2 separate regions of the Homo sapiens genome follow, and region 2 is linked to region 1. Evidence: promoter capture Hi-C in 16 types of primary human blood cells and fetal thymus (Javierre and others, 2016). All regions are on one chromosome and are shown on one strand. The core of a region is centred on a gene start or on the middle of the fragment in contact, and the rest is flanking DNA. Distances in the headings are between cores, read along the strand shown.

Region 1 (5,200 bases), core at 920-3,419:
ATTCAGACATGGCAAAAATGGCCAAGAGTCACTTGGATGACTGAAGCTTGGTAAATAGTGGCTGATGACATGTTTGCTACATTTGTCCTTAGTTTAACATACATATTTCTTATATCTGATAAGTGCAAAGGCAGTGCGTATTGACAGATTATGTTGGAAAGATAAAAAATTTCAATTGAAGTGAAAATATTGAATGTTGCACATGAATCTGAAACCAATGGCTCAGTTACAGAAATGTATCTGAAGAACAATGAGCAAGATTTACCACATGTGAAAAGTGCTGAGTGAATGTAACCAACAACAATAAAAATGAAGAAAAGCGGCCAGGCACGGTGGCTCACGCCTGTAATCCCAGCACTTTGGGAGGCCGAGGCGGGCAGATCACCCGAGGTCGGGAGTTCGAGACCAGCCTGACCAACACGGAGAAGCCCCCGTCTCTACTAAAAATACAAAATTAGCTGGGCATGGTGGCGCATGCCTGTAATTCCAGCTATTCAGGAGGCTGAGGCAGGAGAATCGCTTGGAGGCAGGAGAATCGCTTGAATCCAGGAGGTGGAGGTTGCGGAGAGCCGAGATTGCGCTAGTGCACTCCAGCCTGGGCAACAAGAGCAAAACTCCGTCTCAAAAAAAAACAAAACAAAACACACACACACACACACACACACACACATAAGTATTTTAAAACCTACTAATTATTGCTATTTTTTTTTTAAAGAAACATTGTCTTGCTCTGTCGCCCAGGCTAGAGTGCAGTGGCACGATCTCAGCTCACTGCAACTTCCGCCTCTCGGGTTCAAGCGATTTTCCTGCCTCAGCCCCTCTAGTAGCTGGGATTACAGGTGCCCGCCACCACGCCCGGCTAATTTTTGTATATTTAGTAGAGACGGGGTTTCACCATGTTGACCAGCCTGGTCTTGAACTTCTGATCTCAGGTGATCCACCCTCCTCGGCCTTCCAAAGTGCTGGGATTACAGGCGTGAGCCACCTTGCCCGGCCCTGCACGTTAATTTTTAAGGCAGGACCCACTGGCTCCTGATAAAAACAACTATTTGTACCCCTTCTGATTTTTATTTATAAAGGAAAGGAAATTTTTCTTTAAAAAGAATGAACCACGGCTGGGCGCGGTGGCTCACGCCTGTAATCCCAGCACTTTGGGAGGCCGAGGTTGCAGTGAGCCGAGATCGTGCCATTGCGCTCCAGCCTGGGCAACAAGACAGACACTTCGTCTCAAAAAAAAAAAAAAATTAACGTGCCAGGGGCTGTGTGAGGGAAATAAATATTACAATGTCAAACATTACGCTAGGGTCTATGGTAATTTCATCAAAAACAAAAGAAGTTGACATTTACTGAATGTTCCCCATGTGCCAGGCACAGTGTTATGCTCTTGCTTTGAGGCTTTGTGAACACCATGAACTCCAGCAAATTTTCTTAGCTTTCGTATGCCTCGGTGTCTCAGTTACCGCACTTGGAAATACTGCGGGTAAGCGCTCAGCGACTGTTTGCTACAGTTATTGTTATCCTCACACCAGGAGGGTGGCGTCACCGCTTCACCAATAACCTAGATTGGCAGCGAATGTGCACCAAGCTGAGCTTTCCCAGCCCTCGGAGTCGCCCGTTTCCTTGGCAGCCACGTCCGGGTTTCCCCAAGCCACCATTTATCTGTTTGTTTTTTGGCGGGGGTGGGAGTTGGCAGTGACGCGAGGAAGTTGGGGCCCAATGAACGCCGGTTTTTCGCTCAATGGCTCTGACTCGCTCTCCAACCTGAAACCACGGTTCAAACCCGAGGAGAAAAGGCGCGAAAGGAAACCCAGTGGGCCCTCCCCGCGCCGCGCAGGGAGGAACCGAGGCGGGAGAGCCACCCCGGAAGAGGGGCGGTCCGGGCACTGACCTTTACTCTCCCGCCGGAGTCAGGCCCAAATTCGGCCATTCTCTTGAACATATTGTCCCACGGAAGAAGCCGCCGCCGCCAGGGAAAGAGACCGGGGCTGGCGGGGTCGCCGCTCCCCTCAGAGACCGCGCTCCTGTCGCGCGGGCCCAGGCGGAGGGTTTCTAGCCGAAGGAGGGCGAGTTACTTGGGCTCACGGCGGTGAGTAACCGTCAACTCCTCAGGCCGACTGTGCTCCTGAAGGCCATTCAGGCCCGCGCAGGTGGAGAACGCCGCGAAAAGAGGGGCGACGGCCGCACCGCGCGCAGGCGCAACGGGCTCGCGTATGCGCACGCAGTGTACACTGCGCACGCGCCTGGCGGCTGCAGTCACATCACAGGACCAGTGCAGGAGTTCCAAACCAAAAAAAAAATGAAAGGCAGGAAATAATAAATGACTTCAAAAAGTTGTCCAGATGTTAAGGAGATGAGTTTCCACACTGAAAGATCCTACTAAGCACCCAGCACAAATATTAAAGCATCCACGTCAAGGCATATCATTGTGAATTTTCTGAACATCGAGGAAAAAGAGATCCCACACCCTTCCAGGTTATACAGACTATAGAATCAGAGTGGCTTCAGATTGCTCAGTTAGAATCTAGGAAGCCATACGGCACTGTCTTCAAAACTCTGAGGGAAAATTACTTCCGATTTAGTCTTCAATACTCATCCAACTACCAATCTAGTGTGTGAATAGAATAGAGTTTCAGATGTGCTAAATCACTACACACAAAAAATAGTACCTATCTTACCTTTCTCAGTACCTCCAGGAAGATCCTGTAGATCTGATCCACCAAAATGAGGGAATAAGCCAAGAAGGAGGAAATTATGAAATGCAGGAAATACAATAAATAACAAACACAGAAAATAGTAAGATCCCAAGATGATACTGAAAGAGCTCCGGGAACAATAGCTGTGTATAGGCATAGACGGCAACGCATCTAGATTAGATTCGGTCAGAAATCTTTGGGAGACACTGCTTCAGAAGGATGGGATTGACAAAATTCCAGCTGGCGTTGAATCAAGAGGAGATTTGACCGAGAGTTTGGAGTTTAACTCATGACAGGTACACAGAAAACTAAGCGGCTGTAAGAATTATGCAGCTATTAATTCTAGGGAAAACAAAATCTTGTGCAAGAAAGGAAAGTAATTGTATTTATTGTTACATAAATACTGAGTATTGGCCGGGCGCGGTGGCTCACGCCTGTAATCCCAGCACTTTGGGAGGCCAAGGTGGGCGGATCACGAGGTCAGGAGATCGAGACCATCCTGGCTAACACGGTGAAAACCCGTCTCTACTAAAAATACAAAAAAATTAGCCGAGCGTGGTGGTGGGCGCCTGTAGTCCCAGCTGCTTGGGAGGCTGAGGCAGAAGAATGGCGTGAACCCGGGAGGCGGAGCTTGCCTTGAGCCGAGATCGCACCACTGCACTCCAGCCTGGGTGACAGAGCAAGACTCCGTCTCAAAAAAAAAAAAAAAACAAAACAAAAAAAAACTGAGTATTGATCCCCCCTCCCCCTCAAAAAAAGAATTACATTTAGAAGGATGGGCTTTGGAGAAGGGTACTATGCTTGATGGGGATGGAGGAGGAGGAAATAGAGCTTAATCTTTAACTTCCATAGTAGGAAGTCAGTATCTTAAAATGGAAAAATCAAGAAGAAGCAATATAGGTGTAATATTGAAAAGCATGGAGATAAATATTTTAAAAAATAAGCTAAAAGAGTAGAAAATACTGCTGATTGTAATTTTTAGTAATTCCACTTAACAACTGTAAAGAAAATACTTTTTAAAAGACTTCACTAAATAGAAGTGCAAGGGATGTGCTCAGGGCTTAGTTATATTAGTGCCACATGAAGAGCTCAATTGTCATATGGATGTCACTGCATTTCAACCAAGATAGGAACTGAGTTTCTTTGAAAATGATCAAACATTGATATTGATTTTTATTCTGTTGCCAGAATAAGAGTAGAAATTTGGTTTGGGGGCGTAATTATATTTAAAACAATTGGTATGACTAAGAAATATTTATCAAAAACTAAAGCAAAATCTCCAACAAACATTGCTTTCCCTCTTCAGTCTACTTTGTCTAATCTCTGGCAGTTTCCTCAATCAGCCTGTGTTGTTGGGTTATCCTGGCACTTCTTGGACATGTCCTATCTCTGTTTCTCAGCTGTCACTCTTCAACTCTCTCTCCGCTACCTTGACTCATCCTTTGTACACCTCAGGGTATCTCGATATGCATAAACTCATTCGTTTTTAGTTTAATCACGTCAGAATGGTCCAAGAATTTTGAAGCCAAAGGTTGCACCTATGTAGTGGCCCTCTGCTGCCCTCACATGGCTAGTCTATGTGCTGCATTTACATAGCCAAGAAGTGGCTTGGAACCCCGCAAGCGGTTGTACTGGAATCATGTGGCCTTGAAGAGTTAATTAAAAAAAAAAAAAAAAAAAAAAAAAGGCTGGGCGCGGTGGCTCGCGCCTGTAATCCCAGCACTTTGGGAGGCCAAGGCGGGCGGATTACGAGGTCAGGAGATCGATCTCCTGACATGGTGAAACCCCCTCTCTACTAAAAATACAAAAATGAGCTAGGCGTGGTGGCGAGTACCTGTAGTCCCAACTACTCGGGAGGCTGAGGCAGGAGAATCGCTTGAACCCAGGAGGCGGACGTTGCAGTGAGCTGAGATCGCGCCACTGCAGTCCAGCCTGGGTGACAGAGCGAGACTCCGTCTCAAAAACAAAAAGCTTAGAATGTTCAGTTTGGAGGGAACATACTAAATAATCAGCAAGAGATTTATTCGATCAACTGATATTGATTGAGCATGTACCATGTTCCAGTCACTCTTCTAGGTGTTTAGAATACAGAAGTGGAATGAGTGAAAAATTTCTATTCTTCCTATCAGGACAGTGGTTCAGCATATTATAAAATCAGAGATGTATCATGGTAAGGAGGGTGTCCAGGTGTTGGGGAAGGAAGCAACCCACTGAGGGATGTCAGAGCCTGAGTGGAGAGCACTTGGGCAGAGTTGGGGAATTGGTTACATACAGGCAAACCCATCAAATACGTAAATGTACTAAGGATACATTTTAAGGATAATGAGTATAATGGATGCTAAGTTACTTACTGTCAGAGAAGAGAGTTAAAACATGCGAAAGAAGAAAACTAGAGTGAATCCTGTGGTGTGAGATTAGAATTGGAGATATTGGTGTGGATTCATGATTTTCAATATAAATAGATAGATATAGAGATAAATATAGTGTAAATACATATATCTTCCAGC
Region 2 (4,971 bases), core at 819-3,318, 340 kb before region 1:
AGAGTGAACTACTAAATGAAAGAAAGGAAAGTTAATTAAGGACTGTTATTTAAAACTACCGGGAGTCCATGAGAACAAATTATGAAATGGGTTTAATTTATTATGCTCCTCTCCCAATTTTGGCTGTATTCGCACTAGGCAAATAGACAAGGTAAAGATGGAAAAATAAAACCGGTTTTGTGGCATGAGTCCCATCCTTTTGTAATGCCACTTACTTGTGCCAAAAGGCCCTACCTTCTTTATTAAAATCAGTAATGTTGAAAGCTAAGTTTGTGATTTTAGAAAATGCTGTAAACGTAGCTCCAGAGTTTCATTTCCTTAGGGAAAATAGGCAAATCAGAGTTGAATTGTTTTTCCAGCAATGAGTAAAGATAGAAAATTTTCTTGTTTATGATAAAATGTGTGGTGTAGGCTACTTTACAAAAGAAATCTGCTACAGAATTTATTTTTTGTGTCTAGTACAATTCTATCTAAAAGCTTCATGATTTCAGTCTAAGTAGCTCTATAAGACTCTCCTCATAGATCCTTTTGAGAAAAGTAAGATTTTAAATAAATCTCATTTTATTTGCATATGTTCTATCTTAGCCAGAAATTGAGCAAGATTTTCAAAGATTAGCTTTGCGCTGTCTGTTTCAAAACCTGAATATTTAATGTCTTGGTGAAAAGTGGTGGAATTCCAAAGAACTCACCAAAAACAAGGCTTTTGGGCCCAGTGCTCATCCTAACCACATTCATGAAATGGACTCAAGTAGAAAGAGTTGTAAATAATGACCTCATTTTGTTCAACTCCAAAGAGAATGTGAACCATCCCTAAGCATTTATGTACAACTTGTCATGGGGAAACTGCACCATTCTTATTTATCACTATGACCCAACTTTTTGGCTGACTTTTGAAATGCAATGAGTGCTAACGATGCATTTGGACCTCCACTAGAGAGACATCTACATGCAATCAAACCCACCAAAAGTGCCCCATCAATTAAATTCTCACGAGGGCCTTGTTTGTCTCATTTGTTCATTCAAATATATATTGGCCAATGGCTATATAATCTAAAAATAATATTTAACAGTTAAGGCAAGTTTAAGATGTCTAATATTACTCTTCCCAGAGACTGCTTTCCTCCTGCTTTCTGCTAAACTGAGATAATGGTTATCTGAAAGTTCCGAATTATAGAAACTAAGAAAGACAAAACAGAGATATGGCTGACTAGTTGCTGGCTTGAATTTCCTTGATATACAGACATACAGATTTATGCCCTATTTTAAACATTGCTTTTTACTTGTGTTTTGTCTTCTTGCTCTTCTAGAAAAAACTATCCAAGATGACTGTCACTTACTCCAGTAAAGTAGCAAATGCAACTTTTTTTGGATTTCATAGGTTACTCCTCAAGTGGAGAGGCAGCATCTACAAACTACTGTACAGGGAATTTATTGTTTTTGCTGTTCTTTATACAGCAATAAGTTTGGTATACAGGTACTTTTCTTTACATGTCTCCTTAAATGGCCATCAGATATTGTGTAAGATACAGTCTCAAAAATCTGAACCTTTTGATTGCCACTGACTTCGCATTATGGAACTCCTTTTTTGCGTGAGCCTCTCATTTGTCTTCTTCCCCTCAGGACAGATTTTAATCCACCACTAACCATTGTTAGGTTGTAAAATAGACCCTCACTGTTAAGATTCAGGTGGCCTTCATTCCAGCCCCAGTTGTGCCTCGAGACTGTTGCAATAGGCACAAAATGGAAGGATTATCCTTAGATCTTTACTGTGTAAAGACTTTTGAATGGGCAAAGTCCACAGACAATAATTATTTGTGCTTCTGTCAACTTGTCATTCATAGTTGATGATTTGACAGCTTGTAGCAACTACCTATATAATCAACATGTTCATGATTGGTGTATGTCAGGGAAAAGCTTTCCTTCTTTTGGCCTGGAATGAAAATATCTTATCCAGGATGATGCCTGCCACACTTAACAGTACCTCAACTAAAGCAAAGGCCTGTAGAATAATTTATTTTCTTTCCGTTTTCTGAGTTGAGGGTATATTATGTTCACAAAAGGAGGTGCTTATTCTTTATAACATTACAACATATGCCTGTCAGATTGACAGGAAATTTGAGCAATATCAAGTCCAAGAAATATTTTTATGATGAAAAGTTATAGTCTTAATAAAATTTCATCAGTATGATAAAAGGGAAGACTTATGAGATTTTAAAGCTTTTTTTATTAAAATTGAATGCATAAATTTCTTCTCTGGAGGAAGCTAAAATTTAAAACAGGAAAGCTAAAGGTTTTTGAGGCTGTATTTCCATTTTTTCTATGTTCATAGTTTGTTATTTTTCTTCTGCATACAGATAAACAAATTTGTGTTTCATTGCTCTCACATTCTTCCTTGCAGCAACAGGATCTCCTTTGGAAAAGAGGGATATTAATGTAGTTGACTGATAATTATTAAAAGTAAAATAGGTACAGCTATTTTTCCACATGTCAAAACAACCCTTCCAAGCAAGTGTATGCATTGGTATATATCTTGACAAAATATTTTTAGAGGGAAAGTCCTATTAACAACCTCTAATAATTTTTCAGACATGTCATATAATATGATATTATTTTGGCAATTTAGGTAGGTATCACCTAAGCCTTCAGAATATGAAATGGTAAAAGATACAATGGTGTTTCGTGATAATTATCTCATTAGTTCATTTTTACTAATGTGAATTTATTGCTGCTACTTCTGCTAAGAATAGAACAGAATAGCCCTTAGTACAGTTGCAATGTAGCTAGAAATGTTCCTTGGGGCCTCAACTTTTGTTCCAATATCATACTTATACCCCACAACATTTTATGCATATATTTCTTCTAAAGCAGAGGGCTTACATTTATAACAAAAATTATCAGTTCAAGTCATCCTTAAATTTTTAAAGTTCAATTGTAATACCTTATTAAAATAGATCTTTCTATCTTAATCAAAGGTATACCAAGAACTATAGGATGAGTTTGTCAAGAAAATCAAACACATCTATAGAAAAATATAGATGTAGTTTCATTCTCTAAGTCTTTATTAGCTCTATTATAGGTACATAATTATTCCTAACAAAAATTATAAGGAGGAACCAGATTCATTAATTTGATTACATTTATTTCTATTTTTGGAGGAATTTGACAAAATAATTTCTGAAATACTTTCTAGCTATTAAAATTTCTACATCTATTAGCCAAATATTTTTTCTTTGGCCAACTATTAATATGAACCATTTTATTATTAACTAAGTATGAGGCAATTTGTTAAGTGGTTATATATATGTATACATATATTATTTAATCTTTACAATGCCTCTTATATATAGATATTTTTATCCCCACTTACAGATGAGAAAACTGAGACTCAGAGAGTTCAAAAATATGCTCAAAGTCCAAATTCATAAGTGTCAGACTTGGAATTAAAATCTGGCTTTGTCTGACCTTAAAAAAGGTCCATGCTTTCCACATTTAAATCCTCTTTGACCATGTCTATTTGAACATCAGAAACCATTCTGGCTGTAATTGTCATCAGCATAACCCTGATAGACCTCTGCAACAATCTGGTACCTCTCCTGTCAGCTTTCCCTGACTTCAGTAATTCTAACACCTCTTCCAAAGCTGGGGCAGGAACTCCAAGCTCACCCTGTACCCCACACACCTTCTTTGTCAGGACCAGCTCCCAACAGCTCTCTATCTGCAATCTAATTGGTTGCTTACTGTTATCTCATTATCCCTTTGCTTCCTTTATCAAAGTTCTACTGACCCAAATGAGCCTTTGATGCTTGTTATAATGGATCTTTCCTTGAGTTCCTTCCTCCTTTGGAACAGCTACACTCGTCGATTTATTCAAATTCATCTGTTTGGCTTTCCTTCCTGTATTTTGGTCATTATTATTAGTTTGCCTTAAAACATTTCTCCAGACTCTGAATCTCTTCCCTATAATGTAAATATCAATAATAGTCTCATTAAATGCACTTATGTTTAACAATACCAGAAAATGGGGTTTGGGCAGGTTGGGTTAGATCTATAATATAAATTTTGAGAGAGTGACTAAATTTAATAATGAAAGTTTTCATTTCTCATTGTTAAATTTGTTTTAGACTCCAAACAATTCTGGGCTTTAAAATGAACAGTTATAATATCCCTTGAAGGGATATTATACACATGATAATCAAGAATGTGCTAAGTTGCATATTCAGGAGAAATATCAAGGTGTCAAATTCAGTGTTATTATTTAACAATTACTTAATAATGCTAATTCATACTTAATCAATAATACACTCTTTTTAAGGTATTCCTGATGAATAATTGAAAACTGAACTATTTTGTAACATACCTTGCTCTAAATCCAATGAATCAATCATATAAAACTTTTAAAATATAAAGTTTTTAAAATAAAATGATTAATTAATCCCACTATTTAATAGCCAATCATGTTTACAAAATGTTAGCACTTGAGACATTAAGCAATTAAAAAGCTTTTGAGACACATCAGTTTAAGAAAAAAGGAAAAAATTATTGATCCTTCAAAAATAAAAGATTATTTGTGCTTAATTGTTTGCACTTAATGTCACTTGCAAAGCAGGTGCAGAAGTATAATATCATAAAGGGCTGTGCATTTTATTTTTGCTCCAGATTGTTACTTACAGGAGTCCAAAAACGTTACTTTGAAAAATTATCAATTTACTGTGACAGATATGCTGAACAAATTCCAGTAACCTTTGTGCTTGGTAAGTATAGGTCACACGCAGATTGCAGCCACATAGCTGTCTCCGTTAGGATGACACCGATGACTCTGCATGGGAGTGTTTCCAAGCTGAGAGGCATGCCTGAAAAGCCACCGCTTGCAATAGAACCAGAATCATCCATAAGGTTTGCCTTCACGGCTGCTTTTGCGAAATTAACACCAAACAAGTTTGAGGAAATAATCTGCTATTGGACATTTAAGCT

What was found. The method cuts DNA at HindIII sites, captures the fragments that hold promoters and counts their contacts. A CHiCAGO score of 5 or more calls a contact.
Region 2: a contact is called between a fragment that was not itself captured here and the fragment with the promoter of YEATS4 in region 1, in 1 of 17 cell types (fetal thymus). The highest score is 5.1, in fetal thymus.

What each region holds. Positions count from the first base shown.
Region 1 is chr12:69,356,712-69,361,911 of GRCh38, reverse strand. It overlaps YEATS4 (YEATS domain containing 4), which reads right to left and starts at 2,169. Exons shown (of 7, transcript NM_006530.4): 1 at 1,889-2,169. The coding sequence starts at 1,939. RefSeq lists a silencer at 1,635-1,794 and enhancers at 1,220-1,821, 2,075-2,264, 1,822-2,425. The HindIII fragment of the contact is 4,618 bases long and covers 49-4,666 here.
Region 2 is chr12:69,694,150-69,699,120 of GRCh38, reverse strand. It overlaps BEST3 (bestrophin 3), which reads left to right. Exons shown (of 10, transcript NM_032735.3): 2 at 1,308-1,474; 3 at 4,657-4,751. The coding sequence starts at 1,323. Among named protein-coding and RNA genes, the nearest start is that of BEST3, 2.7 kb to the left of the region's middle. The HindIII fragment of the contact is 303 bases long and covers 1,917-2,219 here.